Linked DNA regions of Homo sapiens: region 1 is linked to region 2. Evidence: promoter capture Hi-C in human tissues and cell types (Jung and others, 2019). All regions are on one chromosome and are shown on one strand. Each heading gives the region's core, a stretch centred on a gene start or on the middle of the fragment in contact. The rest is flanking DNA. Distances are from core to core; before and after follow the strand shown.

Region 1 (5,038 bases), core at 2,086-4,585, 150 kb before region 2:
TCGGCTCGGCATCAGAGGGAGACCGTGGAGGGAGAGGGAGAGGGAGAGGGAGAGGGAGAGGGACGAGTTTGTTTTTTTTTGAGAGGAGTCTCGCTCTGTCACCCAGGCTGGAGTGCAGAGGCGCGATCTCAGCTCACTGCAACCTCTGCCTCCCGGGTTCAAGTGATTCTCCTGCCTCAGCCTCCCGAGTAGCTGGGATTACAGGCACCCACCACCACACTCGGCTAATTTTTGTATTTTTAGAATAGATGGAGTTTCACCATGTTAGCCAGGCTGGTTTTGAACTCCTGACCTCAAGTGATCGGCCCACCTCAGCCTCCCAAAGTGCCAGGATTATAGGCATGAGCCACCGCACCTGGCCAAGAAAGGGTTTTTGTTTAGGCTTCAAACAACTGCAGGACATTTCTGTCCAATATCTTCTATTTCCTGCCCCCAGCTCCCCAACACCCACTTCTCCACCAGCAATTCTGCACAGCAGAGAATGGAGGCCACTTCCACTGTGGAAGGTGTGGGAAGGACAGGCCTTTCACCCACGGGGGAACTGGAAAACATTTCCAGAAAAGCAGCCTGGTACATAGCTGAGAGTCCGGACGCTAGCCTGCCACTCTTCAGCTCTGTGGCCTTGGCCAAGCCAGTGGGGATTAAATGAGTTCATACAGGTCACATAAAGCCCTTAGGATGCTGCCACTGCACTATCTACCCTCCAAGGGTTAGCCTCCATGATGATGACTTCAGCCACAGCCAGTACCAGCAGGAGTCAACAACCCTGGGGAGGGTGGGGTGCTGGCCCCTCATCTTTCTTTTTATAAATAATGACTTTTGGCTGGGCACGGTGGCTCATGCCTGTAATCCCAGCACTTTGGGAGGCCAAGGCAGGAGAATCACCGGAGGTCAGGAGTTTGAGACCAGCCTGGCCAACATGGTGAAACCCTGCCTCTACTAAAAATACAAAAATTATCTGGGCGTGGTGGCACATGCCTGTAGTCCCAGCTACTTGGAGGCTGAGGCAGGAGAATCGCTCGAACCCGGGAGGCGGAGATTGCAGTGGCCCAAGATCATGCCATTGCACTCCAGCCTGGGCAACAAGGGTGAAACTCCATCTCAAAAAAAATTTTTTTTTAAATAGCAAGTGATATATGGTCACTTATTATAAAAAAATGTAAAAATTCAGATTTAAAACGAATCACCTGGCCAGAGGTGGTGGCTCACTCCTGTAATCCCAACACTTTGGGAGGCCAAGGTTGGTGGATCACTTGAGGTCAGGAGTTGGAGACCAGCCTGGCCAATATGGTGAAACCCTGTCTATACTAAAAATACAAAGATTAGCTGGGTGTGGTGGCACATGCCTGGAATCTCAGCTACTCTGGAGGCTGAGTCAGGAGAGTAGCTTGAACCGGGAGGAGGAGGTTGCAGTGAGCTGAGATCACGCCACTGCACTCCAGCCTGGGCGACAGAGTGAGACTCTGTCTCAAAAAAAAATAAAAAAATTAAAAATTAAATAAAACAAATCACCTATAACTCACTCTCCAAAGATCATCTTTGTGGCTGTCTCACCCATCAGCATCTGCCATTGAGTCACCCTGGTCCCAGTCACCCAAGACGCTGGGTTTGCTAAGGGACTGATGTCTCAGGGAGGAAAAGAGGCTGAAGAACAGGCCGTGCAAGTGTGGCTGGCTTGTCCCCAGCAGAGAATTTAGGAGCAAAGCATTTCAGTGACTTTTAAAAGTAAATCAGGCCAGATGTGGTGGCTCATGCGTGTAATCCCAGCACTTTGGGAGGCAGAGGTGGACGGATTGCTTGAGCTCAGGAGTTCAAAACCAGCCTGGGTAACATGGTGAAACTCCGTCTTTACAAAAAGTAGCCAGCCACTGTAGCATTTGCCTGTAGTCCCAGCTTCTCAGGAGGCTGAGGTGGGAGGATCACTTGAGCCCAGGAGTTTGAGGCTGCAGTGAGCCAAGATCTCACCAGTGCGCTCCAGCCTGGGCAACAGAGTGAGACACTGTCTCAAAAAAAAAAAAAAAAAAAAAAAGGTAAATCAGAGGGGCCACCCCTGCTTAAAACCTTTCACCAGCTTCCCACTATGCTGAGGAAAAGGTCAGGGTCCCTAAAGTAGCCCGCAATGCCCATACCCCACACACCTGGCCTGCATGCTGGCCTCCATGTATGAGCTGTATGACTTTGAACGAGTTATTTAAACTTGTCTGTGCTTCAGTTTCCTCATTTATAAAATCGCAATAACAGAACCTACCTCAGGACTGTTTGAGGGTAAAATATGCTACATGAGGTGCTTAGAATAGGGCCTGCCATGCGGAAAGTCCTCAAGAAGCATTGCTGCTATTACTGTTATTATTTTTGTCCCACTGTCTCTTGCTCTCCCCGCTAGGATACACACCCCAGCTGCCTGACTGTGGAGCTCCGCCTTCTAACCCCTCTGGCAGCATCCAAAGGCAAAAGGCCACGGCAAAGCTTCTCCTCAGACGTCCTCCTTGAAGACGTCCTCCTTGTTTTATAAGGGGGTGGGGGAACTTTCCAGAACCCCTTTCTGTCTCATTGACTAGAATGGGATTCTATGCCTGCCCCTAAACAAACAGAGGTAGAGAGTGGGGCCGGGCGCGGTGGCTCACGCCTGTAATCCCAACACTTTGGGAGGCCAAGGCAGGCGGATCATGAGGTCAGGCAATCGAGACCATCCTGGCTAACACGGTGAAACCCTGCCTCTACTAAAAAATATAAAAAATTAGCCGGGCGTGGTGGCGAGCGCCTGTAGTCCCAGTGTAGCAGGACGAGCTGCAGACAAAACTCCTCAGACACCGAGTTGAAGGAAGGGGTTTAATCGGCTGGGGGCATCGGCAAGACTCCTGTCTCGAGAGCCGAGCTCCCCGAGTGAGCAATTCCTATCCCTTTTAAGGGCTCACAACTCTAAGGAGGGTGCGTGTGAGGGGGTCGGGATTGATTGAGCAAGCAAGGGGTACGTGACTGGGGTCTGCATGCACTGGTAACTAGATCGGAACAAAACAGATAGGGATTTTCACAGTGCATTTCTATACAATGTCTGTAATCTATAGACAACATAACTGATTAGGTCAGGGGTCGATCTTTAACTACCAGGCCCAGGGTGCAGCGCCGGGCTGTCTGCCTGTGGATTTCATTTCTGCCTTTTAGTTTTTACTTCTTTCTTTGGAGGCAGAAATTGGGCATAAGACAATGTGAGGGGTGGTCTCCTCCCTTACCAGCTACTCGGGAGGCTGAGGCAGGAGAATGGCGTGAACCCCAGAGGCGGAGATTGTAGTGAGCCGAGATTGCGCCACTGCACTCCAGCCTGGGCAACAGCGAGACTCCGTTTCAAAAAAAAACAAAAAACAAAAAAACAACATCAACAATAGAGGCAGAGAAGAAAGGGAATACCATAGTTATACACACCTGACCCAAAGCAGGGCTCTGTTCCCGTAGACTGGTGGTTCTCAGGTTCCAGGAGAGTCAGAATCACCTGAGGGTTTAAAAAAAAAAACAATTTCCAGGCCGGGCACGGTGGCTCATGCTTGTAATCCCCGCACTTTGGGAGGCCAAGGCAGGCGGATCACCTGAGGTCAGGAGTTTGAGACTAGCTTGGCCAACATGGCGAAACCCTGTCTCTACTAAAAATACAAAAATTAGCCGGGCATGGGGGTGGGTGCCTGTAATCCCAGCTACTCCGGAGGCTGAGGCAGGAGAATTGCTTGAACCTGGGAGGCGGAGTTTGCAGTGAGCCGAGATCGCACCACTGCACTCCAGCCTGGGCGACAGAGCGAGACTCTGTCTCAAAAAAAAAAAAAAAAAAAAAAAAGAATCCCAGCGTGGAAGAGGGGAAAAGATGTAACCCAGCCTGCAAATGCGGGCTCCTCCCTAGAGACTGGCATAAGGTGAGTGCCAGCCCAGACGTGGCCATCACTGTAGCTACACAAAGCCTCCAAGGTTTCTGCCAGCTCTGGGGGCTCATGTGCTCATGGCTGCTGTCCTGCTTCTGCTGATTCCTTGCAGCTGTCGCCTTTACTTCTGTCCTGGAGTTGACCCAAATGAGGGGCAAGAACTGCAGGACATTTTCCCCTGCTCCCAGAGCAACTGCGGGTATAAGGCTGTTGGGCTGTCGTGTGAGGGGGATTTTCCTAAAGACACAGCACACAGGGAGAATAACAGAAGTCACCTTCCTGAGGCTGCCCCGCACTTGGGTTCTGAGGACCTTCGCTCCCTCCCCTCCTTCTCTTCTCCTCCCTCCTGTCTCCCCTGCGGCAACCTGAACTACTCGGCTCTCTCCCCGCTCCTCCTCCTCCTCTGCAACTCAGCTCTAGTCCTGCCTGAGGCCGAACCCTTGAACAGGAGGCCAGGGCTGGAAAGTTGTGGAAATGCCCCTGTGGGGAGCCCTGCCAAGGATGCTGAGGCTGAGCCCCAGCCTGGGGGAGGGGGTGTCCTGATCTGAGCAGACCCTGAGGGCAGACAGAAGGCAGCCAAGGTCTAGAGCTGGTGCCTCTAACCACCTCTACCCCAGAGGCTGTGGGATGCTTGGGAGCCAGGATAGGGCCGGGCTTTGGGTCTACACTACCTTGGTCCTGAGATGGAGTCTAGGAACATTGGTGGGGGTGCCAAGCATTCTGTAGAGGTAGGATGGGGTGGGTCCCTCTCACTTCTTCAGCCCTCAAGATTGCATACAACAGGCTCCTAAGAAATCACTGAGGCTGGCTGGCACGGTGGCTCACAGGTGGCTGAGGCAGGAGAATCACTTGAACCCGGCAGGCAGAGGTTGCAGTGAGCCAAGACCGCGCCACTGCACTCCAGCCTGGGTGACAGAGCGAGACTCCGTCTCAAAAAAAAAAAAAGAAAAAAAGAAAAAAAGAAATCCCTGAGGCTTTTAAGCCTCGGAGGGAGAGCCTGCTGACTCCTTGAGGTGTACAGAGGCACCAGTTTTTAGGAGGACAGAATCTTTCTAAGGCAGTTTGATTTTTACCTTCTCAGGTGCAGGAAAAGTGACTGTTTCCTTCTCTGTGAATTTCCCATGGACTAAGGG
Region 2 (5,308 bases), core at 2,292-4,791:
ATCTCAGCTCACTGAAACCTCTGCCTCCTGGGTTCAAGCGATTCTCCTACCTCAGCCTCCCGAAAAGCTGGGACTACAGGCGTGCACCACCATACCCAGCTGATTTTTGTATGTTTAGTAGAGATGGAGTTTTGCCATGTTGGCCAGGCTGGTCTCGAACTCCTGACCTCAGGTGATCCATCCGCCTCGGCCTCCCAAAGTGCTGGGATTACAGGTGTGAACCCCCACATCCAGCCCTATTATTATTATTATTATTTTGAGACAAGGTCTCACTCCGTTGCCCAGTCTGGAGTGCAGTGGCACTATCTTGGCTCCCTGCAACCTCTGCCTCCCAGGTTCAAGCTATCCTCCCGCTTCAGCCTCTCTAGTAGCTGGGACTACAGGGGCATGCCACCATGTCTGACTCATTTTTGTATTTTTAGAAGAAACAAGATTTCACCATGTTGGCCAGGCTGGTCTCGAACTCCTGACCTCAGGTGATCTGCCTGTCTTGGTCTCCCAAAGTGCTGGGGATTACAGGCGTGAGCCACCACGCCTGATTTTTATTTATTTATCTATTTTTAGTCAGGGTCTCACTCTGTTGCCCAGGCTAGAGTGCAGTGGCATGATCACAGCTCACTGCAGCCTTGCCCTCCTGGATTCAAGCAATCCTCCCACCTTAGTCTTTCGAGTAGCTGGAACTATAGGTGTGCACTACCTACCTAGCTAATTTTTGTATTTTTTTGTAGAGATGGGGTTTCACCATGTTTCCAAGCTGGTCTTGAGCTCCTGGGCTCAAGCAGCTCACCCACTGCAGCCCCCAAAGTCCAGATTACAGGTGTGAGCCACCGTGCCCGGCCAGTTCTTGGTTTTTTAGTATGATTCTAGTGCCTACTTCATGCTTTCTAAATATTATTTTCCACTAAAAGATTAAATCAGAGCTCTTTGGAGTATTGGTTGATTCCAGGGGCTGGAAAAGTTGATATCTTGCTATACCAGAAAGCAAGTGTTCCAGGAATTATGGAAGCAGGCCAAAATGACACAGACACCAGCTTGAAAGGGTTCCCATTGACCACATTGATCAAATAAATATAAATATTCAGGGTCTAAGGGGAGGTTTTGTGTGTGGGGTTTTTTCGTTTTTTTTTAGACAGAGTCTTGCTCTGTCTAGAGCAAGGCAGGAGGGCAGTAACACAGTCATAACTCACTGTAGCCTTGAAGTCCTGGGCTCAAACCATCCTCTTGCCTCAGCCTCTCAAGTAGTTGGGACTACAGATATGCCCCACCACACTGGCTAATTTTTTTTTTTTGGTAGAGATGAGGTCTCACTGTGTTGACCAGGCTGATCTTGAACTCCTGAAGCCTCAAGTGATCCTCCCACCTCAACTTCCCAAAGTGCTGTGATTACAGGCGTGAGCCACCGTAACCGAGTGTGTATTCTATTCTTAAAGAGGGTCCTCCAAATCGTAACCTTCAGGCCCCATAAAACCAATATCCACCTCCAGAAATTCTTGTCACTGTTTTAAAAATGAGGAAACTGAGGCACAGAAAGAGAAAGTGATTTGCCCAAGGTCACTCAGCTAAGTGAAGCAGGATTTGAACCCAGCCAGTCTGACTCCAGAGTCTGCTTCAAGGGGACACTGTGAGAATTCAGTGAGATTTAAAAACATGAAAGGAACTTTATAAATTTAAGGATTAAGACTAATAATCAAATGAAAGAGGTGTGCCTGTTTGTCCACTGGTGCTCAGCTCCACAGAGGAAAGGGGCAGAAAAATCCTCCTACCGTATGCCAGAAACCACTTGGAATTTAACAACCAGGACCTCATTTTGTCCCCATGGCAGCCCTACAGCCAGGCATTATTGTCCCAGGGAGGCTTATCGAGGTTCAAGGATCAACCCAAGTCACATAACCAAAAAGTGATGGATTCTGGAGCAGATGCCAGGGCTAGTGATGCCAGAGCCTCTCTCTCCCCATCCAGGGCACCAGGCTGCCCAACAGCATGCAGCAGAAGGCTTGCCACACTGGACTGGCCAAGGTCCAGGAACATGACACAACCAAGGGCCTCTCCACCTTCTCTCATCCCCTGTGCTCCACCATCTGAGAAAGATGCCCGGGACAGAGGAGCCACGTGGCAGCAGAGCAACACTTCTGCCCAGATCACAAGTGGGCAACGTCTGCAAAGCAGGCAGCAGCAAGGTGGGGGCAGCTAGCCACAAGCTCTGAGAATCTCAGGCTCTGGCTGTGCAATTGGGCCAGTGGGTCCAGGGAAACAAACAAGGACTTTGGAGTCAGGCAAGATCTGGGCTTTGTCTTCCTGGTGGGATGACCTTGGGCAAGTCACTTTAGCTTTTTTAGTCTCATAAAGTAAGAATCTAGCCTTAGGAAGAGGCTGCCAATATTAGAGTGGGAAGTGCCTGACACATAATAAGTGCTTAGAGAATGGCAACCATATATATACATATATATATATATATATGTATGTATGTATGTGTATATATATATACACATATACATATAAATATACATATACATATACATATACATATACATATACATATATATTTTTTTGAGACAGGATCTTGCTCTGTTGCCCAGGCTGGAGAGCAGTGGCATGATCTCAGCTCACTGTAACCTCTGCCTCCCAGTTTCGAGTGATTCTTTTGCCTTAGCCTCTAGAGTAGCTGGGACTACAGGCACATGCCACCATGCCCGGCTAATTTTTGTATTTTTAGTAGAGACGGGATTTTGCCATGTTGGCCAGGCTGGTCTTGAACTCCTGACCTCAAATGATCCCCCTTCCTCAGCCTCCCAAAGTGCTGGGATTACAGGCATGAGCCACCGTGCCCGGCTGGCAACTATCTTTTATTATAATTCTGTGAGTTCTTCTCAGCAGACCTGGCCTTTCAGGAGTGGTAGGAATCAGGCTGGGGATAAGGATTCTGAAGGACCTTATTCCTGCAGGGGGCCCAGAACTGGAATCAGAGGAGGAGGCCTCCTAGATTGGACAGTGGGCAAAGTCCTCCCAGCCCCCAGGGTCCTGGCTCCCTTCCCTGTAGCCTGCTTCTGGCTGACAACAGAAGCAGGGCCCCAAGGTTAGGCAAACAAGCTAGTGATAAGGCACTTCCAGGTTGGGCCTTGCATTCAAGGCCCACCCAGCTCTGGGGCTGGCTTCCTGGCTTAGCAAAAGCCCTAGTCTTTTGTGCACACAAGAGCGGGCACCAATGGGGACACCTGCTGATTGTGCACCTGGGGCCTTGGTGCCCTGGTACAGCCTGAGTTAATGACCTTGTTTATCCACTTGAGTCATCTGATAAGGGGCAGCTGAGTGAGCGGCAGGTGGCCCTGTGCCCTGCACCGGCCACTTCATTGACTGAGGTGATATCAGTGCCACGTGGGGTTCCCAATGCCCCCTCCCCCACCACTTCCCCACCATTCCTGCCAGGGGCAATGTCTGTGTGTTTTTTTCAATGAACATGACTTCTGGAGTCAAGGTTGTTGGGCCATTCCCCCCGTTCCACTCACTGGGAATATAAATAGCACCCACAGCGCAGAACACAGAGCCAGAGAGCTGGAAGTGAGAGCAGATCCCTAACCATGAGCACCAGCCAACCAGGGGCCTGCCCATGCCAGGGAGCTGCAAGCCGCCCCGCCATTCTCTACGCACTTCTGAGCTCCAGCCTCAAGGCTGTCCCCCGACCCCGTAGCCGCTGCCTATGTAGGCAGCACCGGCCCGTCCAGCTATGTGCACCTCATCGCACCTGCCGGGAGGCCTTGGATGTTCTGGCCAAGACAGTGGCCTTCCTCAGGAACCTGCCATCCTTCTGGCAGCTGCCTCCCCAGGACCAGCGGCGGCTGCTGCAGGGTTGCTGGGGCCCCCTCTTCCTGCTTGGGTTGGCCCAAGATGCTGTGACCTTTGAGGTGGCTGAGGCCCCGGTGCCCAGCATACTCAAGAAGATTCTGCTGGAGGAGCCCAGCAGCAGTGGAGGCAGTGGCCAACTGCCAGACAGACCCCAGCCCTCCCTGGCTGCGGTGCAGTGGCTTCAATGCTGTCTGGAGTCCTTCTGGAGCCTGGAGCTTAGCCCCAAGGAATATGCCTGCCTGAAAGGGACCATCCTCTTCAACCCCGGTGAGCTCCCAGACACTCCTGGGTGGGGGGCAAGGCTGAAGCAGGGGCCAGCCAGGGAAGGTAGCTTCTAAGGGTTTGATATCTGTTATCTCATTGGGTCCTCATTTTCTTTTTATTTTTCTGAGACAGAGTCTCACTCTGTCACCCAGTCTGGAGTGCAGTGGTGCGATCTTGGCTCACTGCAACCTCTGCCTCCTGGGTTCAAGCAATTTTCTCTGCCTCAGCCTCCCGAGTAGCTGGGATTACAGATGGCCGCCACCACTCCCGGCTAATTTTTGTACTTTTTAGTAGAGATGGGCTTTCACCATGTTGATCAAGCTGGTCTTGAACTCCTAACCCCTCAGGTGATCCACCCACCTTGGCCTCCCAAAGTGCTGGGATTACAGGCGTGAGCCACCGTGCTTGGCCAGTCCTCATTTTCATCAAATAGCCATCTCACAGAAGAGGCACAGAGAAGCTAAGTGACTAGCTAAAGGTAACACAGCCAGGTAGGGACAGACCAGGATGGCAACTCAGGTCTATTCACTCCAGAGACTGGCCCTTGCCACTCTGCCTGAGAAATTTGCTCTGACCTTTACAGAAGGCTGTGGGGAGGTGGGGTGGGCAGACACAGCTGTGTCTCAGTCACATCCTCAAAGGAAGGCTGCATGGTGAAGCTCTAGAGCTAAAACTCCTCTGTGGGTTCAGAAAGATCACATAGAAGAGATGACTGAAAGGGGCGTAGGGAGGACAGGAAAGGAGTCTTTATGGAATTCGGCCAGGAGAGCGGCAGATGGAGACAGTGCTGTTTGTAATCTGGAGAGCATCTGAGATGAGAGTTCCCCAGGAGTCCCTTGTGGCACGCATAAATCGTAGTAATTAATTGTAATAATAGTAGCAAATACTCATATCACACTTACCATATGTTAGGCCCTATTCTAAGGGTTTTACATATACTAGTTCATTTAAATCTCATAAAAGCCTAGGAGACAGGTCCTATTAATATTATTATTCCCGTTTTACAGATAAAGAAACTGAAGCCCAGAGATTAAGTGACTTGCCCAAGGTCACCCAGCTAATAAGTGACAGTGCTGGGATTCATACCCAGGAAGCCTAATTCTTAACCATTACTCCACACTGCCTCTTCATAAATGGATGGATGAATACATTGAAAATTGATAAATAAATTACCTCCTCTAAAGGAGGAGGTAGTAGTGGGACC

Evidence for each region. The method cuts DNA at HindIII sites, captures the fragments that hold promoters and counts their contacts. A contact is called where the count stands out against the background at its distance.
Region 1: a contact is called between a fragment that was not itself captured here and the fragment with the promoter of NR0B2 in region 2, in 2 of the 25 tissues and cell types used here (mesendoderm cells and spleen).

The regions. Positions count from the first base shown.
Region 1 is chr1:27,058,463-27,063,500 of GRCh38, reverse strand. It overlaps LOC101928391 (a long non-coding RNA gene), which reads right to left. Exons shown (of 8, transcript XR_007065559.1): 6 at 4,979-5,038; 7 at 3,421-3,487. Among named protein-coding and RNA genes, the nearest start is that of TENT5B, 48 kb to the right of the region's middle. RefSeq lists a silencer at 4,149-4,443. The HindIII fragment of the contact is 6,810 bases long and covers 1-5,038 here.
Region 2 is chr1:26,912,208-26,917,515 of GRCh38, reverse strand. NR0B2 (nuclear receptor subfamily 0 group B member 2) reads left to right here and starts at 3,541. Exons shown (of 2, transcript NM_021969.3): 1 at 3,541-4,107. The coding sequence starts at 3,576. It also overlaps a transcript of NUDC not described here. RefSeq lists an enhancer at 1,574-2,074. The HindIII fragment of the contact is 33,061 bases long and covers 1-5,308 here.